Regions from separate parts of the Homo sapiens genome. Here region 2 is linked to region 1. Evidence: promoter capture Hi-C in human tissues and cell types (Jung and others, 2019). All regions are on one chromosome and are shown on one strand. Each heading gives the region's core, a stretch centred on a gene start or on the middle of the fragment in contact. The rest is flanking DNA. Distances are from core to core; before and after follow the strand shown. Region 1 holds the start of SCNN1G (sodium channel epithelial 1 subunit gamma). Region 2 overlaps EARS2 (glutamyl-tRNA synthetase 2, mitochondrial).

Region 1 (3,867 bases), core at 1,249-3,748:
TCAATAATTCCATGAAGTAGGCATGCTATTATTATATCCATGTTACAGAGGAGAAAAATGGGCTCAGAGAGGTTGAATATCTTGTGTAAGATGATGCAGCTGGTTAGTGGAGGAGCTGGATGGAACCCTGCAGCCTTCACCGCTATGGCATACGCCTTTGAGGGGCCTGGTAGTACGCTGGGTGCAGGGAGTTAATTAACAATACCAAGAACTAAAGGTAGGAGGAAAGAGAAGGAACACAGCTATTTAATTTCCAAACTCTGAACAGTGCACATGACCACTTCCCAAGACTTGTGAGCACTAGTATTGGGGGTGGGGGATATATGAAAACTGTGTCGTCCTATGCCTTCTACAGTGACAAAGGCAAATTAGGACATATCCTAGGGCATACAGGGTGGTCCCCAGGACCAGAGAGGACCCATGTCTGTGACTTCGATGTGCCCCATCAAGATTTTTAGGCAGTATTCGGAACCTGCAGAGTTATGTCTTTTTTTCCCACCCTGAACCCATGAAATATGGGCTAAAATTGGAAGCTGGGGCAAAGCTAGGAGGCTTCCAAGCTTATGATGCTAGTGGGTTTAAGGCCTCAGATGGAAAGGAAATGGAGTGCTGGGCATGGAGGTGAGATGTCCAGAGCAGACAAACTGCTCTAAACCCTCCATAGATTGATATGATTTTGCTGGGATGAAGAACACCATCAAAATGATGCTAGTAGCCTCTGGGCAAGAGGAATATAATTTATTTTTTTATCACTTAAAATATTGCCTATCCTTACCTCCTCCCTCACTACAATCCAAAAAAATAAAAAATGAAATAAAGAAGAAGGAAAGAAAGAAAAAAATTAGCGAGAGTTTGTTTTTAAAATCTAGGTCCAGGTTCAATTGCTTGTCAAATAAAACTGCAGCCCTCCTCTGTGAATGTTCAACAGAAGCTGTGATTCTGGAAGCTCCTATCCCCAGCTCTCAGGGGTACCTCTGCCCCATCAGCCCCTTCCCCAGAACCGACCTTGACCCCAATGGATCAGTCGACAATGTCAGAGGAGCCCCCAAGTGAAGGAAGGGAACTGATCTTGCTCTTTGCAAAACAGATAAAATATTCATATAAATAATATTTCAACTTCAAAGCAAAACAAGACTGTAGCTACCATTAGATTATGCAGCCTGAGCCAATGTGATACCCTTGGTGGAAGAATTACTAGCTGATACCCAGCACTTACTCTTCTAAGTACTTTGCAGCTGTCACCTCATTTAATTTTCACGATAATCGTCTGAGGTAGGTATCACAACCACCTCCATTGTACAAATGAAACAGACGCTGACAGGTTAAGTAGCTTGCCCAAGGTCACACTAGAAAGTGGCTGAGCTGGGATTTGCACCTAGGAGTCCCTTTAACGACTAACTAGGCTGCTCTTCAATCATTAATAATAATAACAGCAGCAGGGAAAGCAGCAATAATGGCAGCTATCACTTATTGATCCCTTTCTGTACTCCCAGGCATCCCACTCAGTCCTTTTCACACACTACCTGATTTAATCCTCACTACAGTTATATGAGGTGCTATTACTTGGCCCATTTCACAGAGAAGGAAACTGAGGCACAGAGGTTAGGTAATTTGCCCAAGACCACACAGGTAGAAAGGATTTGAAGGATTCTTTAGAATTCCAGGGCCCTGGCTCATCGCAGCGGCTCCGTGCACCCCCTCCTCACCTACCACCGACTTTGCCTGTCCCCCATCCCACAGTGCAGGACCCCAAAGCTTGGAGAGGGATGAGAGATTTGCCCCAAGTCTAGCGTTGGGTTCGCTGGACCGGAGAGTTCCCGATCAGTGCCCGTCCCGAAGGGCGAGTCCTGTGCAGAAATCACTTGAACTCAACCTCAGGGCCCTGACCCGAGCTCCTGCCGAGCGACCCCGCAGCCCTGCCCTCCCTGCGCGGAGCGAGCGGGCGCTGTCCTGTGGCGGAAGCCACGTCTGCCCCGGGGGAGCGCCGGCTGAAGGCGCTGGAGCGAATCCAACCAGCCCACTTCAAGTGTTTGCTTCTTTCTGCACCAAGTCACCCCGGAGAAAGCATTCCAGAGGGTAGAAGGAACAGTAGCGGACAGGTCCACGCGACTCACCCCGGCAGGGAAGGGGGCTGAACAGGCGCTGGGCGGAGAAAAGAGGCCAGGTGTGGCCCGGGACCCCCAGACCCCCGGACTCTGAGTGGCTCTCGACTGGCTTCGTGCTCCGGGCCACGGCGTGGGTAGACCCGGGAGAGCTGGCCGCTACCGCCCGGGCAAGGTGTCCCAGCATCCCGGGCACCGGGAAGCCGCCACCGGCTGATGCTGGCTCGGCCACCCACCGCGCTGACGGCGTCCGACGCCCTGGCGCCCGGCATCCGCTCCAGTGCCCAGAACCCCCGAGCTGGTCCGACCCAACCCGGCTGAACTCACCTTTCGGTTCCAAAGGGTCCAAGGCTCGTGCGGGTGCGCTGCTCCTCTGCTCGCTCTCGGGCTAGCATCCCCTGGCAGCGCCACCGCGGGCTCTTGTGGGCCGGCCAGGCCCCGCCCCCTAGGGACCCGCCTCCCCAGGCCCCGCCCCCACCTGCCCAGGTGCTTTCCCCAGGCCGCCAGGCACCTGAGACCGCCCGGAGCGGGCCACGACTTCACAACGCCCCCTGGCGCCCCGAAGCCGCCCTGCGCCCCAGCCCGGCCGCGCTGCGTCTTCCTGGGCCACCGCGCAGTGCCTGCTGCCGCCCCGAGGCCGCCCTGCCATCCTGCATTCCCGCTGGGTCTCTGCGGCACTTACCCCAAGGCGCCTCAAAGCGCCTGCTGCCCCCTATTACTGCCCCGCGACTTCCTTCCACTCCCGTCCAGATGGCAGGTGCCTGCCCTAGCACCAGCAGTAATCCCACGCAGCCTCGCTCCTCGGACTCCCTCCAGACCTGCAGCTTCAGTGCCCACCAGCGTCCGGCTGTAGGCAGCAGGGGCTGTTCAGCCAGGCCACTCATCCTTTGACCTTTTCAGCTGCTTCTTTCTCTTTCTTTCGTTATTTCCTCCTTCCTTCTTCTTTCTTTTCCTCTTTCCTTCTTTTTTTTTTTTTTTGACGGAGTCTCGCTCTGTCGCCCAGTCTGGAGTGCAATGACGCTATCTCAGCTCACTACAACCTCCGCCTCCCGGGTTCAAGCAATTCTCCTGCCTCAGCCTCCCAAGTAGCTGGGGTTACAGGCGCGCGCCACCATGCCCGGATTAATTTTTGTGTTTTTAGTAGAGACGCGGTTTCACCATGTTGGCCAGGCTGGTCTCAAACTACTGACCTCAGGTGATCCACGCGTCTTGGCCTCCCAAAGTGCTGGGATTACAGGTGTGAGCCACCGCGCCTGGCCTGTCCTTCTTTCTCTTTCTCTCTTTCTTTCCTTTCTTTCCTCCTTCCTTCCTTGCCTGCCTGCCTGCCTTCCCGCCCGCCCACCTTCCTTCCTTCCTTCCTTCCTTCCTTCCTTCCTTCCTTCCTTCCTTCCTTCCTTTCTCTTTCTTGCTTGCTTGCCTTCCTTCCTTCCTTCCTCCCTCTTTCTTCTTTCTCTCTCTCCCTTCCTTCCTTCCTCCCTCCCTCCCTCCTTTTTCTTTCTTCCTTTCTTTCTTTCTTTCTTTCTTTTTCTTTCTTTCTTTCCTCTATTTCTCTCTTTCTTTTTTTAACAGGGTCTGCCTCTGTCACCTTGGCTGGAGTGCAGTGCTGCAATCATAGCTCACTGTAGCTGCCAACTACTGGGCTCAAGCGAGCCTCCCACTTCAGCGTCTCAAATAGCTGGAATTACAGAGGTAAGCCACCTTTCCTAGCTTCAGCTGCCTTTTTATAGGGACTCAGATAACTACAAGAAACGAGATTAGAAAACTG
Region 2 (4,063 bases), core at 1,122-3,621, 360 kb before region 1:
ACAATCTTCCCACCTCAGCCTCCCAAAGTGCTGGGATTACAGGCGTGAACCACTGCACCTGGACCATTGGAGCATTTCAGATTAGGCATATTTGGCATTATTTTTGTTCATTAGACAAAAGTCACTAGGCCCAGCCCACACTCAAGGGGAGGGGACTACACAAGGACAGAAACACCAGAAGGCGAGAATGACTGGGGCTATGTTAGAAGCCAAGATTTGGTCTCAGAAAGTAATGTGTAAAGTAATTTTAATTATTTGTTATTTTTAATGAGCAAGGTCCACAGGCCGGACGTGGTGGCTCACGCCTGTAATCCCAGCACTTTGGGAGGCTGAGGTGGGTGGATCACGAGGTCAAGAGTTCAGGACCAGCCTGGCCAATGTGGTGAAACCCCGTCTCTGCTAAAAATACAAAAATTAGCTGGGCGTGGTGGTGCGCATGTAGTCCCAGCTGCTCGGGAGGCTGAGGCAGGAGAATCATTTGAACCCAGGAAGTGGAGGTTGCAGTGAGCCAAGACTGCACCACTGCACTCCAGCCTGGGCGATAGAGCGACACTGTCTCAAAAAAAAAAAAAAAAAAAAAGAAAAATGAAAGGTCCACAAAGGGCCAAGTATGGTGGCTCACGTCTGTAATTCCAGCACTTTGGGAGGGCGGAGGTGGGCAGATCACTTGAGGTCAGAAGTTCGAGACCAGCCTGGCCAACATGGTGAAACCCCATCTTTACTAAAAATACAAAAATTAGGCCTGGAGTGGTGGCTCATGCCTGTAATCCCCGTACGTTGGGAAGCCGAGGTGGGCAGATCACCTGAGGTCAGGAGTTCAAGACCAGCCTGGCCAATATGGTGAAACCCCATCTCTACAAAAATACAAAAATTAGCTGGGCATGATGGCGGGTGCCTATAATCCCAGCTACTTGGGAGGCTGAGGCGGGAGAATAATTTGAACCTGGGAGGCGAAGGTTGCAGTGAGCTGAGATCATGCCATTGTACTCCAGCCTGGGCAACAGAGCAAGACTCCATCTCCAAAAAAAAAAAAAAATTAGCTGAGCTTGGTGGTGCACGCCTGTAATCCTAGCTACCTGGGAGGTTGAGGCACTAGAATCGCATGAACCCAGAAGGTGGAGGTTGCAGTGAGCTGAGATTGTGCCATTGTACTCCAGCCTGGGTGACAGAGGGAGACTGTCTCAAAAAAAAAAAAAAGAAGATCCACAAAGATATATATTGAAAGAACTCTCTTCCAATCTTGACTCTGGCCACTCAATTCTGCTCTCCAGAGATAACCAGTGTTAAAATTTTCTTATGTCTCCTCCAGAGACATTCAGTACATATACCTATAAGTACATATTATTTTCTCTTTTTCCTTATTCACATGGTAGCATGCAATGTACTATGTACATGCTATGTGGTGCAATTTACCATGTCCGCTTACCATCTTGAGGATCAGATATCAGTCCATAATAATGCATAATATTCCATTTGTGGATATAACTTCATTTACTTAATCAGTTTCGTCTTAACAAACATTTATTTTTGTTTTGTTTTGTTTTGTTTTATGTTATGTTGTGTTATTTTAGAAATGGAGTCTTGCTCTATTCCCCAGGCTGGAGTGCAGTGGCAAGATCTTGGCTCACTGCAATCTCCATCTCCCAGGTTCAAGTGATTCTCTGGCCTCAGCCTCCCGAGTAGCTGGGATTACAGGTGCCCGCCACCACACCCTGCTAATTTTTGTATTTTTTTGGTAGAGATGGGGTTTCACCATGTTGGTCAGGCTGGTCTCAAACTCCTGACCTCAAGTGATCTGCCCAAGTGATCCTCAAGTGGCCTCCCAAAGTGCTGGGATTACAGGCATGAGCTACGACACTCGGCCTTAATAAACCTTTATGTTATTTATTTATTTATTTATTTTTTGGAGACGGAGTCTTGCTCTGTTGCCCAGGCTGGTGTGCAGTGGTGTGATCTTGGCTCACTGCAACCTCCACTTCCTGGATACAAGCAATTCTCCTGTCTCAGCCTCCTGAGGAGCTGGGACTAGAGGTGCATGCCACCACACTTGGCTAATTTAATTTTCTTTTATATTTTAGTAGAGACGGGGTTTCACCGTGTTACCCAGGCTGGTCTTGAACTCTTGAGCTCAGGCAATCCACCTGCCTCGGCCTCCCAAAGTGCTAGGACGAGCTCAGGCAATCCACCTGCCTCGGCCTCCCAAAGTGCTAGGACTACTGGCATGAGCCACTGCGCTCAGCCCAAACCTTTATGTTATTTCTAATATTTGGTTATAAAAGAAGAGAGCTGTGATGACTAATGTTGACATATGTCATTTTGCACTTGTGCAGTATGTTTGCTGAATACCTTCCTAGAGGTGGAATTGCAGAGTCGAGTTGTAGCTTTGATGGATACTGCCAAGTGGCTGGCCCTTTACTTGTTTACACTCCCATCTGCAATAGCATTGTAACATTTACATTGCAGTTCCAGTGAACTATTTGGTCAAGGGCTCAGCTGTTTGGCCAAGGTCATGACGTTTACGGTGACATTGCCTTTTTATTATAAACAATGTATTTGTCTCTTGACAGAATATTTTTTTTCTCATCTCATTCTGTGACCCAGGCTGGAGTGCAGTAGCATGATCACAGCTCATTGCAGCCTTGAATCTCCTGGGTTCAAGCAATCCTACATCCTCAGCCTCTCAAGTAGCTGTGACCACAGCCATGTACCACCACACACAGAGTGTTATGTTTTGTTTTGTTTTGAGATGGGGTCTCACTCTGTCACCCAGATTGGAGTGCAGTGGTGTGATATTGGCTCAAGGCAACTTCTGCCTCCTGGGCTCAAGCAGTCCTCTCATCTCAGCCTCCCAAACAGCTGGAACCACAGGTGTGTGCCGCCATGCCCGGCAAATTTTTTTTGTATTTTTTGGTAGAGACGGGGTTTCTCCGTGTTGCCTAGGCTGGTCTCAAACTCCTGAGCATAGGAGATCCACCCACCTCAGCCTCCCAAAGTGCTGGGATTATAGGTGTGAGCCATCATGCCCGGCTGGCACACAGCTAGTTTTTAAATTTTTGTAGAGATGGAATTCCCCTATTTTGCCCAGGCTGGTATGAAACTCAAGCGATCTTCCCACCTCAGCTTCCCAAAGTGCTGGGATTATAGGCATGAGCCACCATGCCTGGCCAACAGATTTTTTTTTTTTGTTAAATTATAGTCATGCCCTGTTGTGGAATCCTTGCAGCCATTTATTTATTTATTTATTTTAAGCTTTCAGGATTTGTATTAAATCCTAGTCTAATTTAACGGTATCTGATGTTACACACATCATCTCATGGTGAACGTGTTTAATAAGCGAAAGCAAATCAGACAGCTTATCTAAGTCGTTATTTTTTGTGGACTAAACAGTAAGGTAACAACTACCCAGAACCCTATGGGTCATGATGGACACTTGCTCAGTTTTCATACAAGCTGTGTTGGTTATCAAAGTATATCTGCTAATATTTAATAAAGTGAAATGTCATTGGGGTGGAAAAGTCAAGCCTAGACATTTGGTTGGAAAAGAACAGATCAAGTATGGATTTCACAAACCAAAAGTTTATAAACTCAATGCAATACAAGTCCTTTCTATTGTAAAAGCTTAGTTGAAACTAAAAGATCTGTAAAAACTATTACTTTGGGCCTTAAACAGTACTAGCTCTTATGAGCAAAAAAAGGACACAACTGCAGCCTGGGCAACGTGGTGAAACCCTATCTATATTAAAGTACAAAAATTAGCTGGGCTTGGTGGTGTGTGCCCATAATCTCAGCTACTTAGGAGGCTGAGGCAGGAGAATCAGCTGAACTAGGGAGATGGAGGTTGCAGTGAGCTGAGATTGTGCCACTGCACTCCAGCCTGGGAGACAGAATGAGACCCTGTCTCAAAAAAAAAAAAAAAAAAAAAAGGAGGGGGGCCATAACTGTTGAGAATGTATTACTTGGTTTTATTTTACATTAGGTGGTAGGTACAAAGCAATCCTTCTTAATAAAGCTGACAGTTAGCTTCCCTTAGGACTTTTTTTTCCAGACAGGGTCTTGCTGTGTC

The links. Contacts are between HindIII fragments. The study calls those that stand out against the background at their distance.
Region 2: a contact is called between a fragment that was not itself captured here and the fragment with the promoter of SCNN1G in region 1, in 1 of the 25 tissues and cell types used here (lymphoblastoid cells).

What each region holds. Positions count from the first base shown.
Region 1 is chr16:23,181,376-23,185,242 of GRCh38, reverse strand. It overlaps SCNN1G (sodium channel epithelial 1 subunit gamma), which reads right to left and starts at 2,498. Exons shown (of 13, transcript NM_001039.4): 1 at 2,430-2,498. RefSeq lists a silencer at 2,527-2,776. The HindIII fragment of the contact is 8,387 bases long and covers 1,159-3,867 here.
Region 2 is chr16:23,538,834-23,542,896 of GRCh38, reverse strand. All of the region lies in intron 3 of EARS2 (glutamyl-tRNA synthetase 2, mitochondrial), which reads left to right. Among named protein-coding and RNA genes, the nearest start is that of EARS2, 16 kb to the left of the region's middle. RefSeq lists enhancers at 3,995-4,063, 3,890-4,063. The HindIII fragment of the contact is 8,042 bases long and covers 1-4,063 here.